Linked DNA regions of Homo sapiens: region 2 is linked to region 1. The links are contacts of gene promoters, found by promoter capture Hi-C in human tissues and cell types (Jung and others, 2019). All regions are on one chromosome and are shown on one strand. Each heading gives the region's core, a stretch centred on a gene start or on the middle of the fragment in contact. The rest is flanking DNA. Distances are from core to core; before and after follow the strand shown.

Evidence for each region. The method cuts DNA at HindIII sites, captures the fragments that hold promoters and counts their contacts. A contact is called where the count stands out against the background at its distance.
Region 2: a contact is called between a fragment that was not itself captured here and the fragment with the promoter of SPINT1 in region 1, in 2 of the 25 tissues and cell types used here (bladder and spleen).

What each region holds. Positions count from the first base shown.
Region 1 is chr15:40,842,685-40,848,917 of GRCh38, forward strand. It overlaps SPINT1 (serine peptidase inhibitor, Kunitz type 1), which reads left to right and starts at 1,364. Exons shown (of 11, transcript NM_003710.4): 1 at 1,364-1,502; 2 at 1,806-2,345. The coding sequence starts at 1,871. SPINT1-AS1 (SPINT1 antisense RNA 1) reads right to left here and starts at 1,840. Exons shown (of 2, transcript NR_146468.1): 1 at 1,495-1,840. RefSeq lists silencers at 802-984, 1,146-1,375, 1,456-1,515, 1,806-2,045 and an enhancer at 937-1,508. The HindIII fragment of the contact is 27,771 bases long and covers 1-6,233 here.
Region 2 is chr15:41,003,051-41,008,626 of GRCh38, forward strand. It overlaps INO80 (INO80 complex ATPase subunit), which reads right to left. Exons shown (of 36, transcript NM_017553.3): 28 at 2,543-2,637. It overlaps LOC105376713 (a long non-coding RNA gene), which reads left to right. Exons shown (of 2, transcript XR_001751508.2): 2 at 1,483-1,808. Among named protein-coding and RNA genes, the nearest start is that of INO80-AS1, 11 kb to the right of the region's middle. The HindIII fragment of the contact is 4,085 bases long and covers 1,372-5,456 here.

The sequences.
Region 1 (6,233 bases), core at 114-2,613:
TTCCTGAATCTGGAAGGCAGAGGTTGCAGTGAGCCGAGATCGTGCCATTGCACTCCAGCCTGGGTGACAGAGCAAGACTCCGTCTCAAAAAAAAAAAAAAAAAAATAAATAAATAAATAAATAAAGATTCTTGAATGTGTTAGCCATAAGGGGAAATCAAATCACAACAAAACCCTTTCTTCCCAGTGACTGCACAATCATTTTCTTCATTCCCAGCATACCACCATTGTTGTATATCCACCAGTGTGCCAGGGTCTGTGGATAAACCCTAAACATCCAGAGAAGGGGAGACAGGCCCCAGATTCCCACCCCAACACGCATCATGTGAGCAGCTGGAGGATGTTGCAGTTCAGCAAAATCCAAGGGTTGGCCACAGGATCTGCTAGGCAAAGCTGCTCTGGATGAGAAACTGGGAAGAATGTTCCCATTGGTTTGGGGGTTGTTAAGCCATCAGGAAAAGGTTTGGAATCTGTATTTTAAGAGAGCATGCTATGTGATTCCTTCCTCCAGCCCTGCCTTCATCTGTCTTTCACCTGTTCAGACCCTTGCCGTAGAGAATGGTCTCTTAAGAGTTTTTTACTCAGGAGGAGCAATGAGCTTGGCTTCAAGGAGTCCACTGTTTCGTGAAGGGCATTAACTCAGCTACTTGGTGAACTGGAACCTCCAGGCTTCCAAGGATGACATTTCCCTGGAAGAAAGTAGCCAGCAGCGTCCCCTTTGTGAAAGAGAGGAAGCCTGGGCTCCAGGGAAGGGGGCAACAGTCCAATGAGCCATAGCAGGGAATGGACCGAACTGTACATACAAGATGAGGAGGGGCCTCGAACAACAGGGAAGCCCCGTGGAGCACGCAGGGGAGCCTGGACGCGGGGAATCGCCTCCGTTTCTCACCCTGACAGCAGGGAGGGCTTCCCGGAGCTGACAGTGAGGCAGACATCCCGGATCCCTGTTATCACAGGTGCAGCCACGCAACTTTTGGGTTACCTTCCCGCCACGAAATGGAAATGATTTCCTGAGGGCCGGAAAGATCATTTGCATCGGGCCTCAGGTCTGGGGCTGGGAAAGCAGGCCCCGGCCGGAAAGGAAGACTGGAGGCCGCCGCCCCAGAGGCCGGACCCTCGCGTCCCGGCCGCATCCCCTCCCGGCTGGGTATGCGCTTCGGGCGCGGGGCTCCCTCGCGAGGCTGGACTGGGTGGAGCCCGAGAGCCCCTCCGGGGAGCTGGCTGCCGGGGAGGCACCGGGGCTGCGGGGCCGCGGGGCGGGCCGGGCCTGGAGCTCCGCGCTAGAGGCGGCCGCAGCGCACCGGGCGTGGGCGGGGCCGGCAGCGCAAGGGTGAATGTCGGCCCCGCCCCGACGGCGCTGACTCAGTTTCACCAGAAACCAGGGGGAGAAGGCGGCCGAGCCCCAGCTCTCCGAGCACCGGGTCGGAAGCCGCGACCCGAGCCGCGCAGGAAGCTGGGACCGGAACCTCGGCGGACCCGGCCCCACCCAACTCACCTGCGCAGGTAACCCGGGCCCCCGCGCGCAAGGCCGAGGCGCAGGCGGAGCGGGCTGGAGCATGTCCGGCCCTTTGTTCTGCGCTCGTGCGTGTGTCCGGGTACTTGAGCTCCCTAGCGGTCCGCCTGTCCGTCTGTCTGGCTGCCGGGTCCCTGGAGGGCGCGTGGGAGGGCCGGGCCCGTGCGCCCTCTTCGATCCTGGGGTGCTCCGGTCCCTCCTCCCCGCCACTTCCTCCCGGCCGGCCCGCCTCCTCCAAAGTCTCCCGGGCTGATCAGGTGTGTCTCCTCCTCTGTCCCCTCCCTTCTTCTCAGGTCACCAGCACCCTCGGAACCCAGAGGCCCGCGCTCTGAAGGTGACCCCCCTGGGGAGGAAGGCGATGGCCCCTGCGAGGACGATGGCCCGCGCCCGCCTCGCCCCGGCCGGCATCCCTGCCGTCGCCTTGTGGCTTCTGTGCACGCTCGGCCTCCAGGGCACCCAGGCCGGGCCACCGCCCGCGCCCCCTGGGCTGCCCGCGGGAGCCGACTGCCTGAACAGCTTTACCGCCGGGGTGCCTGGCTTCGTGCTGGACACCAACGCCTCGGTCAGCAACGGAGCTACCTTCCTGGAGTCCCCCACCGTGCGCCGGGGCTGGGACTGCGTGCGCGCCTGCTGCACCACCCAGAACTGCAACTTGGCGCTAGTGGAGCTGCAGCCCGACCGCGGGGAGGACGCCATCGCCGCCTGCTTCCTCATCAACTGCCTCTACGAGCAGAACTTCGTGTGCAAGTTCGCGCCCAGGGAGGGCTTCATCAACTACCTCACGAGGGAAGTGTACCGCTCCTACCGCCAGCTGCGGACCCAGGGCTTTGGAGGTGAGGAGGGTGCCAAGATGGATGGGTTTGGAGAGACTCAAAAAAGGGACTGGTTATGGGGTCCTAGGGGAGACGAACATCAGAGAGGAGTTAAGGAGAGTTCACTTTTTTTTTTCTTTTTCTTTCTTTTTTTTTGCGACGGAGTCTCGCTCTTGTCGCCCAGGCTGGAGTGCAATGGCGCAATCTCTGGTTGCTCACTGCAACCTCCGTCTTCCACGTTCAAGTGATTCTTCTGTCTCAGCCTCCGGAGTAGCTGGAACTACAGGCACCCGCTACCAGACCCGGCTAATTTTTTTTTTTTTTTTTTTTTTTTTTTTTTTGGTACAGACGGGGTTTCACTATGTTGGCCAGGCTGGTCTTGAACTTCTGAACTCAGGTGATCCACCCACCTTGGCCTCCCAAAGTGCTGGGATTATTTCTACCTGAAGCCCTCCTTAGAAGTAGGCAGTACAGCCGAATCAAGCCTGGTGATCAATGGGGTGACAGATGTCACAGCCAGATCGCCTTCACATCGGTAGTAGGCAGTACAAACAGTAAACAAATGAAAGGGGACATGAGTAGGGAGGGCAGGGCCCAGGCTCTGGCTCCTGAACTCAGGATGTTCAGAGGTGATGGGCTGGTGCTCACAGGGAGGCCTTTGGCTCTGGGCTGTGTGTACTGGAGGGGAGAGGAAGTCCCCAGGACTCCTGACCTCTGGCACTGATAGGCTGATTGAAGGAGTGAGCTGTCTGGATGGTCTGGTGACTAGAAAGGCACCTTGGCCAAGCACTGGTCTGGGCACACCGATGCCCTGTCAGGTGAGCCTGGCCATAGTCTCCTCCACTGGCTGGACTTGGGACTGCTTAGCATCTCTCTACCCCCTAGGAATGCATTGGCCTTTTGGTGGTCCAGGAAGACTGCCAGATCCGAGACTAGAAAACAAGCCCAGTCTGCGGTTGATCCAAAGGGAGAGAAGTGATGTTGTAGGCACAGAAGCCTAGAGGCTCTGGGGTGGGGGATGAGGAGGGTTGTGGGGTGAGTCAGCCTGTTGGTATGTATACCTAGTAGGGAAGGGATGTCAGCTGTCCAGGCAGGTGTGTGTGCATGCGCATGAGCCAGACAGGGCTCTCCCTGCTTAGAATCTGGTAGCCAAACCTTGTTTACTTCCATAGATAAAGGCAAAGCGGAGGCCAGGGCTCCTCCTCTTTCTTCCCCGGACTGAACTGTCTGCTGGGATCAGGGCCAGTCCAGAGCCTTGGTTCCCCCTTTCTCTCTACCTGCTGTTCTGGCCAGGTGGGGCTCCAGGGCAGGGGTAGGTCACCTCTCATAACCTCTGTGAGCACTTTACAGCTTACTGATTGCTGTGCCACACATCCTCTCACTCAGGCCTCATCACAACAACTTCCAAAAAGGGTGCTACTAGCAGTCATCCCACTTTTTAGATTAGGAAACTAAGACTCCCATGTTAAAGAATTTGCCCAGGGTAACACTGCCCATAAATGGTAGGCCTGAGATTCACCCCAGGGGAGACCTCCAAAAAAAGTCCTGTGCTGTTTTTCACACAAGACCATCTCTCTGGTAAAAACCTAGCATTCTGACCCAAAATAGCCCAGTGGATAACAGAACCGGGGATTGGGGAGTTTGGGGGCCAGAACTGGGCTGGGGCCACATCTGGGGGTGGTCTCCGTTCTGGAAAGTGGAGAAAGGGCTTTCCTCCGCAGACTTTTCCTGGGCTAGTCTCTCTGCCAGGCTAAGGAGGGTCCTCTTTCCTCCCTATCCTTCCAGTAGCTCTCCTGGGTCTCTGAGGAGAGGCGAGATGGGGATTCCTGTGGATGGGAGGGGGACATATCTGAGGGCCAGTCTGGGCCACCAAGTCCCACTGAACCAGGGCTGCAGCCTGTTCCACAAGGAAGTAGCAGAAAGTGTAGGTGGTGATGACTCTTACTGACCTGAGTTGCTCATGCCCTTCCTGCTCCACAGAGGCCCCATGGGAGTCCCTCTCCAGAGCCAGAGTGTGAAATTCTGGAGTCTGGTCAGGGAGCTTAGCTGGACTATGGCCCCATGGTCTTGAGACCAGCCATCCTCATCTGGAAACCCCCAGGACCTGCCTGTTTGCCACAAGAGAGGGTGGAGTGGGGATTTCCTGGGACATTGAGGGAGGCAGGTAGGGCTTGGACTTAGTATGAGCTCCAGGCCATTCTAGGCCATTCTTAGAGTGCTGCAGTGCTTTGGGAAGAGGAAAAAGCTGTGTGTGTGTCAAGGGGTTTATTCTCACCTGGGTCCAGTTAGAGAGGTTGGAGGTGGGTAATGACAGGGTAGAGCCATTAAGGGCTAGGGTGGATGAGGTGGGTTGGGTGACGTGGGTCACGGGCACTGAGAGCTTCCAAACCTTTGATTCTCCTATTGCATAGATAAATGCTCCCCAGAATGGGTTTGTTTGTTCCTCCTTCTGCCTGTGGCCAGGCCAGGCCAGTACAGATTCCTGCAGCTGGAGGCGGAGCAGCTTGCACTTCCTCTTCTCCCCTTCTCTTCCCCCACCTCTCCTCCTCCCCAGTCCTATGAAGGAGTGGCTTAGGAGGCGGAGTCTGCACTTCCCTGAGGTCCTGAGACCTGGTAACTAACTGGGGGAGGGGCTGGTTTTATTGCCACTCTAGCCCTTTGCTCTCTTGCGGGTGGGAGGAAGGGAGTGGTAAGGCAAGGTACCTGCTCCTTGGTCCTGGGGGCTGGGGCTTGGAGAGGACTGAGTTGTGTTGGGGTGGGATTCAGCCCCTGATTCAGCTCAAAGTCTGATGCATCACTCTGCATGCTACTTCCACTCTGGGGGCCTGGTGGGGCTAGCCTGTCTGTCTGCTAGGCAGACTGCTAAGTAGTCTGTCTTCTTTCTACAAAATGCAAGGAGGGAGGACTGCGCTCCTCCCAGCTCGCTACTCCCTTGGCAGGTGTTCTCAGGGTACTCTCCTGTTTGTCAGCCAAGCCCCTGGGCTGGGAGGTTGCCTCCAGACAGCCACTTTTCGTTCCTGCTCATCCCTGTCTTATTTTCCCTAATCCCTGGAACCCAGTTCTCTTTTTACTATTTTTGTAGGCCTCTGAAACATTCAACATGTTTCTTCCTGAAATCTCTCCCTTCCCATCCCTTTTGCTGTCATTGTGCATCCTGGTCTTCTCAGCCCCAGAACCACCTTCTGTGAGTCCCCCATTGGCTCTGCTTTCTCTACTTCATCAAAGAGGAATCCCTGAGACTCGGCCTCCTACCAGCTGTTCTTAGCTCTTTACCTTCTCTTCTTTCTTTGCATTCACTCTAACACTTGAAAAAACTCTCTAGAGAGCCTCTGTGGAGGGTAGTTGGGCAATATCTATCAAACCTAAATGCACACAGCCCTGGACACAATTCCACTTGTAGGAATTCATCTTGCAGCTGTACCTACACACGGATAAAACAACTTACCAGCCAGTTAGTCCCCGTAGTATTGTTTATAATAACGAAGAATTGGAAACAATCGCATTGTCTGTCAACACATCCTATAATTGAATACTGTGATGCTGTTTTCATAATAATAATAAACCCTAAGGTAGCATGGTTTAGTTCTTAGGAGAGAAAGAAAGAAAATCTAAATCAGGAAACTGGTAGGGACTGTTTAAATAAATTATAAATTGTGGTGCATTTATACAATGAATATGATACAACAACAACAACAAAAGGAAACTCTTTATGTGTCACTATGGAATGATTTCCAATATATATAAAGGGCAAAACAAGATGAAGAACTCAAATGCTTGTGAATTCAAATACTGTCTCTTGATATTCTCTCTCTCTCTCTGTCTCATACATACCTTTGGGGTAATAAACCTGATGGAGAAGGTTCCTTCTTAAGGAGAAGAGGTGACTTAATTTTGACTAGGCTTTTGTAC
Region 2 (5,576 bases), core at 2,164-4,663, 160 kb after region 1:
TGGAGGTTGCAGTGAGCCAAGATCACGCCACTGCACTCCAGCCTGGGTGACAGAGCGAGACTCTGTCTCAGAAAAAACAAAAACAAAAACAAAAGTTGTTGGCAAAGGCTTTTTAATGATATATGAAAATGGTTATGACAGAATATTAAGTAGAAGAAATCAGGATACAAAATCCCACCTATAATATAATAGTATAAATATAACCCTATACATACATTAAAGACTAGAGGATATACCAAAATGTTAAAAGTAGTGGGATTGTGGGTGATTTTTCTTTTCTTTTCTTTTTTTTTTTTTTGAGATGGAGTCTCGCTCTGTCACCCAGGCTGGAGTGGAGTGGTGGATCTCTGCTCACTCTAACCTCCAACTCCCGAATTCAAGTGATTCTCCTGCCTCAGCCTCCCGAGTAGCTGGGATTACAGGCGCCCACCACCACGCCCAGCTAATTTTTGTATTTTTAGTAGAGACGGGGTTTCACCATGTTGGCTGGGCTGGTCTCGAACTCCTGACCTCAGATGACCCGCCCACCTCGGCCTCCCAAAGTGCTGGGATTACAGGCGTGAGCCACTGTGCCTGGACTTTATTTTCATCTTTAAATATTTTTCAAATTTTTCTCAATAGGCATTTCATTATAATCTATAAAGTCCCCAACTGTTACTGAAGAAAAACAAAACATTACTGTTAAAAAGATCCTTAAATGTACAGTATCAAATATACTAGTGGAAAATAAAAACAGTATCAGGTGAAATACCTATTACTTAATGGCTTTTCTCATAATTCACAAAGCATGCCACCCCATACCAGTATGCCCACATCACAGATATACTGGCATGACTGGAGAAAATACAGGCACTCTGAGGAAACATACAGTCTATAGCTCGCACATAAGATTCTTGTCAAGTTGCAGCTCTGAGGCTGGAGTAGGTAAGGACATGACATGATAAAATATGTATCACTGATTTCAGAATTAAGAAAAGATGAAGATCACCCAGTAATTTTTTTTCCTCTTTTTGCCAAAACAATGTGGTGGAATAAGGAGGCACAATGCTTATGTTTCAAATAATTGGTTTTAGAATCTACTGGTAGCTTCCGCTAGGTGAGAAGCTAGGTTAGGCTATCCACACAGCTGCACGAGGGTAACAAATGGAAACGGGTTTGAAGCAGATCTTCTCCTTATTGTTGGTCAAACAGGCACCTGGAATTCTGGTGTGTAGTTTTAACTTAGGAAAAATTCTTTAAACAGAGGACACTCTATGTTGAATTGTGGATGTGTTTTATGCCAAATTATTTTATGTCTGAATTAAACTATGCTTTAGAACTGAATGGAATTAAAAATTGTAATCTAAATAAAATGGCTATGTGCTTAATTTTCTTAATAAGAATTCAGAAGTGAAATATTAAGAGGCCATGCAATTAAAAGCCAAAGTCAAAGCTGTTCTGATTTACTGACATTAAGATCTGCTTTATTCCTTGGCTCTCCAGGTCTAAGGAGGAAAACTGAAGACGAAGTTCAACAGACCCGTCACTAGTGGAGCCTGGCTTTCTCCTTGGAGAAAGCAGTAACCAGACTCTACCTATTACAATGAGAAGCTGCACTCAGGATAATTATGGCTCGGTAAACCATCAGCATTCAGCAGGCAGTAATTGAAATTTCATAGGCTCATTAGCAGGTGGGAGAGGTACTGTGGCTGAGAGCTGCCAGCTGAGTAGATTGTACAGTATTGCAATTTGTCATAAGGCACTGTACTGCTACTATGTTAAAAGGAAAGCAGGAAAATAAAAGGTACTTTTTCTTATACAAAATGAAACACAGAAACAAACTAATAACTTTAAGTCATTACTCAGAAAGTGCTACTGTTAGTGGCCGGGATCACTGGTTCATCCCTATAATCCTAGCACTTTGGGAGGTGGAAGTGGGTGGATCACTTGAGCCCAGGATTTCAAGACCAGTCTGGCCAACATGGTGAAATCCTGTCCCTACTAAAAATACAAAAATTAGCTGGATGTGGTGGCGCATGTCTGTAATCCCAGCTACTTGGGAGGCCGAGGCACAAGAATTGTTTGAACCGGGGAGGCGGAGGCTGCAGTGAGCTGAGATCATGCCACTGCACTCCAGCCTGGGTGACAGGGAGAGACTGTCTCACACACACAAAAAAAAAAAAAAAAAAAAAGAAATGGCTACTGTAAGCAATGAGGAATACAGGCTGGTGGATTTTTTTCTACATACCTATTATCCATTGAGGAGGATCTTGGTTCATACTTAGAAATGATTTCTTTTATTATCCAAAGAAATAGGCACTGGTGTCATAAGAAAGCATACTTCAAACATACAAACTATCAGGTATATTCTCTTTTTCTCTCCCAGACACATAGATCTGAATTATGATAAGCAGATTTAGTAACTTCTTAAAATGGCAGGAATTACATCTTGATTCCTTAACAATCTCAGATGTCCTGGCATTTAAAAAAAAAAAAAAACTTACCATTTCAAGCACTAGAGGGAAATTAAAAAGATAATTTTTGTAATTCCCATGAACATTACCTGTTCTGAAAATCAGCAACCATGTCTCGCCTCTCCGAGATCTTGGATGAGCCATCAAGCCTCATGTAGGTATGCTTCCTGTAAACCATGTATTCCTGCCAACCAGGATAAAAGGACACAGTAAATCTGATGCAAATTACTGTATTCTGATTTCCACAGGCATCTACCCATCTTCTACCTTGTCCACACTGGAGGCAAGCCATTATAACCAGAATGGGGAGAGAGTAACCCCAAGAGTACAAGAAGTTAATCTGTAAATGAGTTTACTGCCAATGTGTGAAAATCCAGGGCAATCTGAAGATTATAATCACTCTCAATTTCAGTTTGGAACCTAATCTTATTCCTGTAAATTCCTGTAGGTTTCATTAAAAAAAAAAAAAAAAAAAATTCCACAAACCAAAATAGTTTTTCAGTCATCAACCAGATATCTTTCACAGCTATGAAAATACCTACTTTTTTTGTCAGTGAATAACATTCACTGAAACGAATGTGTTTCCCCAGAGCAAACCTTTACTGATTAAAATGCTTAAATTTACAGCCTAAGCTTCCTTCTCCCAACAGAGCATGCATCACTGTTATGGGAGGCCTAAGCATCAGAGTAAAACAAAAGACAAGGTAATTTTCTATGGCAGAGAATGTTCTTGACATCATCAAGAGGAATTACAACTTTTAAGAATGAAGAGACTCCAAAAGATACAATAGAGAGACTGCCTCTCCATTCTTAGAAATTGCAATTCTTCTTATAGTTATGTCCAAATGAACATTTATTTCCTCTTTTGTTATCTCTGATTATGCTACAAAAAGTCCACTTGTAGAAGAACTAGTATCAAAAACTCAACACAGCTGCCTATTTATAAGAAACAGCATAAAATAGTTGATTCGGTTCTAAAATAACTTCTCTATTGAAAAAGACTAATCATTTCTACATTTGGGAAATGTTTGTGTTAATTAGTTTTCTGTGGTCAAATGTTCTTATACTGCAATATTTTCATATGTAACTCTTATACTTGGTGGGGCATTTTAGCACATCAGGTTGCTGTAGTTTGGAATATCTGGTGCAGCGTATGTGACAGCCTATTCTTAGATGGAGTGAGTGCCAAGAACTTGGCAGAGGTCTCTGGCTAGGGTACATGTGAAGCGAAGCTGGTCAACAAAGTAGACAAGCTCATTGACATATGCATCTTCATTGTGTTTTATATTTGGTTTAATTTTGATTTTTTAATTTTTTACCATTTCTGTCTCAAAGTGGTTCCTTAAGAGCTGTGATAATCAAAGAGAAGCATAAAATAAAGTGAGCTTCAAGTTCATACTTAGTGGTATTGCTATATCGTAGGACTGAACTAATGGCAGAAGGGTAGGGGGCGTTTTGGATAAAAAGGACTTCAAGAAAGAAGGTATAAAATGATAGCAAGATGATGGTCCTTAGAGGCTTGCTATACCTTTTGCAGCTAATCCAATCACAGAACGTTGCAATCAGAACAACAAAGTAACTAGACAATACCAAGACAGTTTACAGAGACACCCAAAACACAGATTATAATTTTAGCAAAAAGGTAGGCTTCCTGCACAGGCACTCTTTTTTTTTTTTTCTTTTTTTTTTTTTTTTTTTTAGACACTGTCTTGCTCGTCACCCAAGCTGGAGTGCAGTGGCACAATCGTGGTTCACTGCAACCTCCTCCTCCCAGGTTCAAGCGATTCTCCTGCCTCAGCCTCCCTAGCAGCTGGGATTACAGGCAACTGCCACCACACCTGGCTAATTTTTCTATTTTTAGTAGAGATGGGGTTTCGCCATGTTGGCCAGGCTGGTCTTGAACTCCTGACCTCAGGTGATCTGCCCACCTCAGCCTCCCAAAGTGTTGGGATTACAGGTGTGACCCACTGAGCCAAGCCTGATTTGCCTTTTAAACTGAACTTCTAGCCTCATAAAAGCATTGATGAATGAATCTTCTAGTAAATTTTGCTGTTTATATATTTATATATCAAGGCCAGCACAACCCCGGGGATATTAATCCTAGACCATAATCAAACCAACCCTGATTATAGAGAGCCTGTTACTGAGGCAACAGAAGTGAATTATTCCCTTCCACTGCTTCAAGTCTTAGCTCTTGAACTAAGACGAGCAGTGGGACTTCAGGCTTTAGTAAATTTAGAGTCTATTTCAGTAAATAGCTTCAAAAAAAAAAAAAACAAGAAAATGGACATGGAAAGATGTGTTAAAAGGCTGAATAGAGCGACATCTACATCCTCACACTATAGGAAAACACCTAAAAGACAAAGGTTGGGGCCAGGTATGGTGGTTGGCTGGACGAAGTGGCTCACGCCTGTAATCCCAGCACTGTGGAAGGTCGAGGTGGGTGGATCACTTGAGATCAAGAGTTCGAGACAAGCCTGGCCAACATGGCGAAACCCCATCTCTACTGAAAATACAAAAATTAGCTGGGTGTGCTGGTATGTGCCTGTAGTCCCAGCTACTCAGGAGGCTGAGGTGGGAAGATCATCTGAGCCCAGGGAGTTTGAGGCTGCAGTGAGCCAAGATCATGCCACAGCACTGCAGCCTGGGCAACAGGGTGATTGTCTCAAAATAAACAAACAAAACAGGTGAATGGATAAAGAATATGTGATATATATACATACACACACACACACACACACACACACACACGAATATTATTCAGCCTTAAAAAGAAGGAAATCAACATGAATAAACCTGATTCTGTTAAGTAAAATATGCCAGACATGGAAAGACAAATACTGCATGGTTCAACTTATATGTGCAAGCTTAAAAAGTTAAAACTCATAAAAGTAGAGAGTAGAAGGGTGGTTGCCAGGGGGTAGGGGAAATGGGGAGATGTTGGTCAAAGGGTACAAAGGTTCAGTTATGCAAAATGAAAAAATCCTGGAGATCTAATGTACATCATGGTAACTAGAGCTAATAATATTGTATCGTATATGTGAACTCTTCTAAGAGAGACAATATCACATGGTCGACCTTAAATATATACAATTTTTATTTATCAAGCATACATCAATAAAG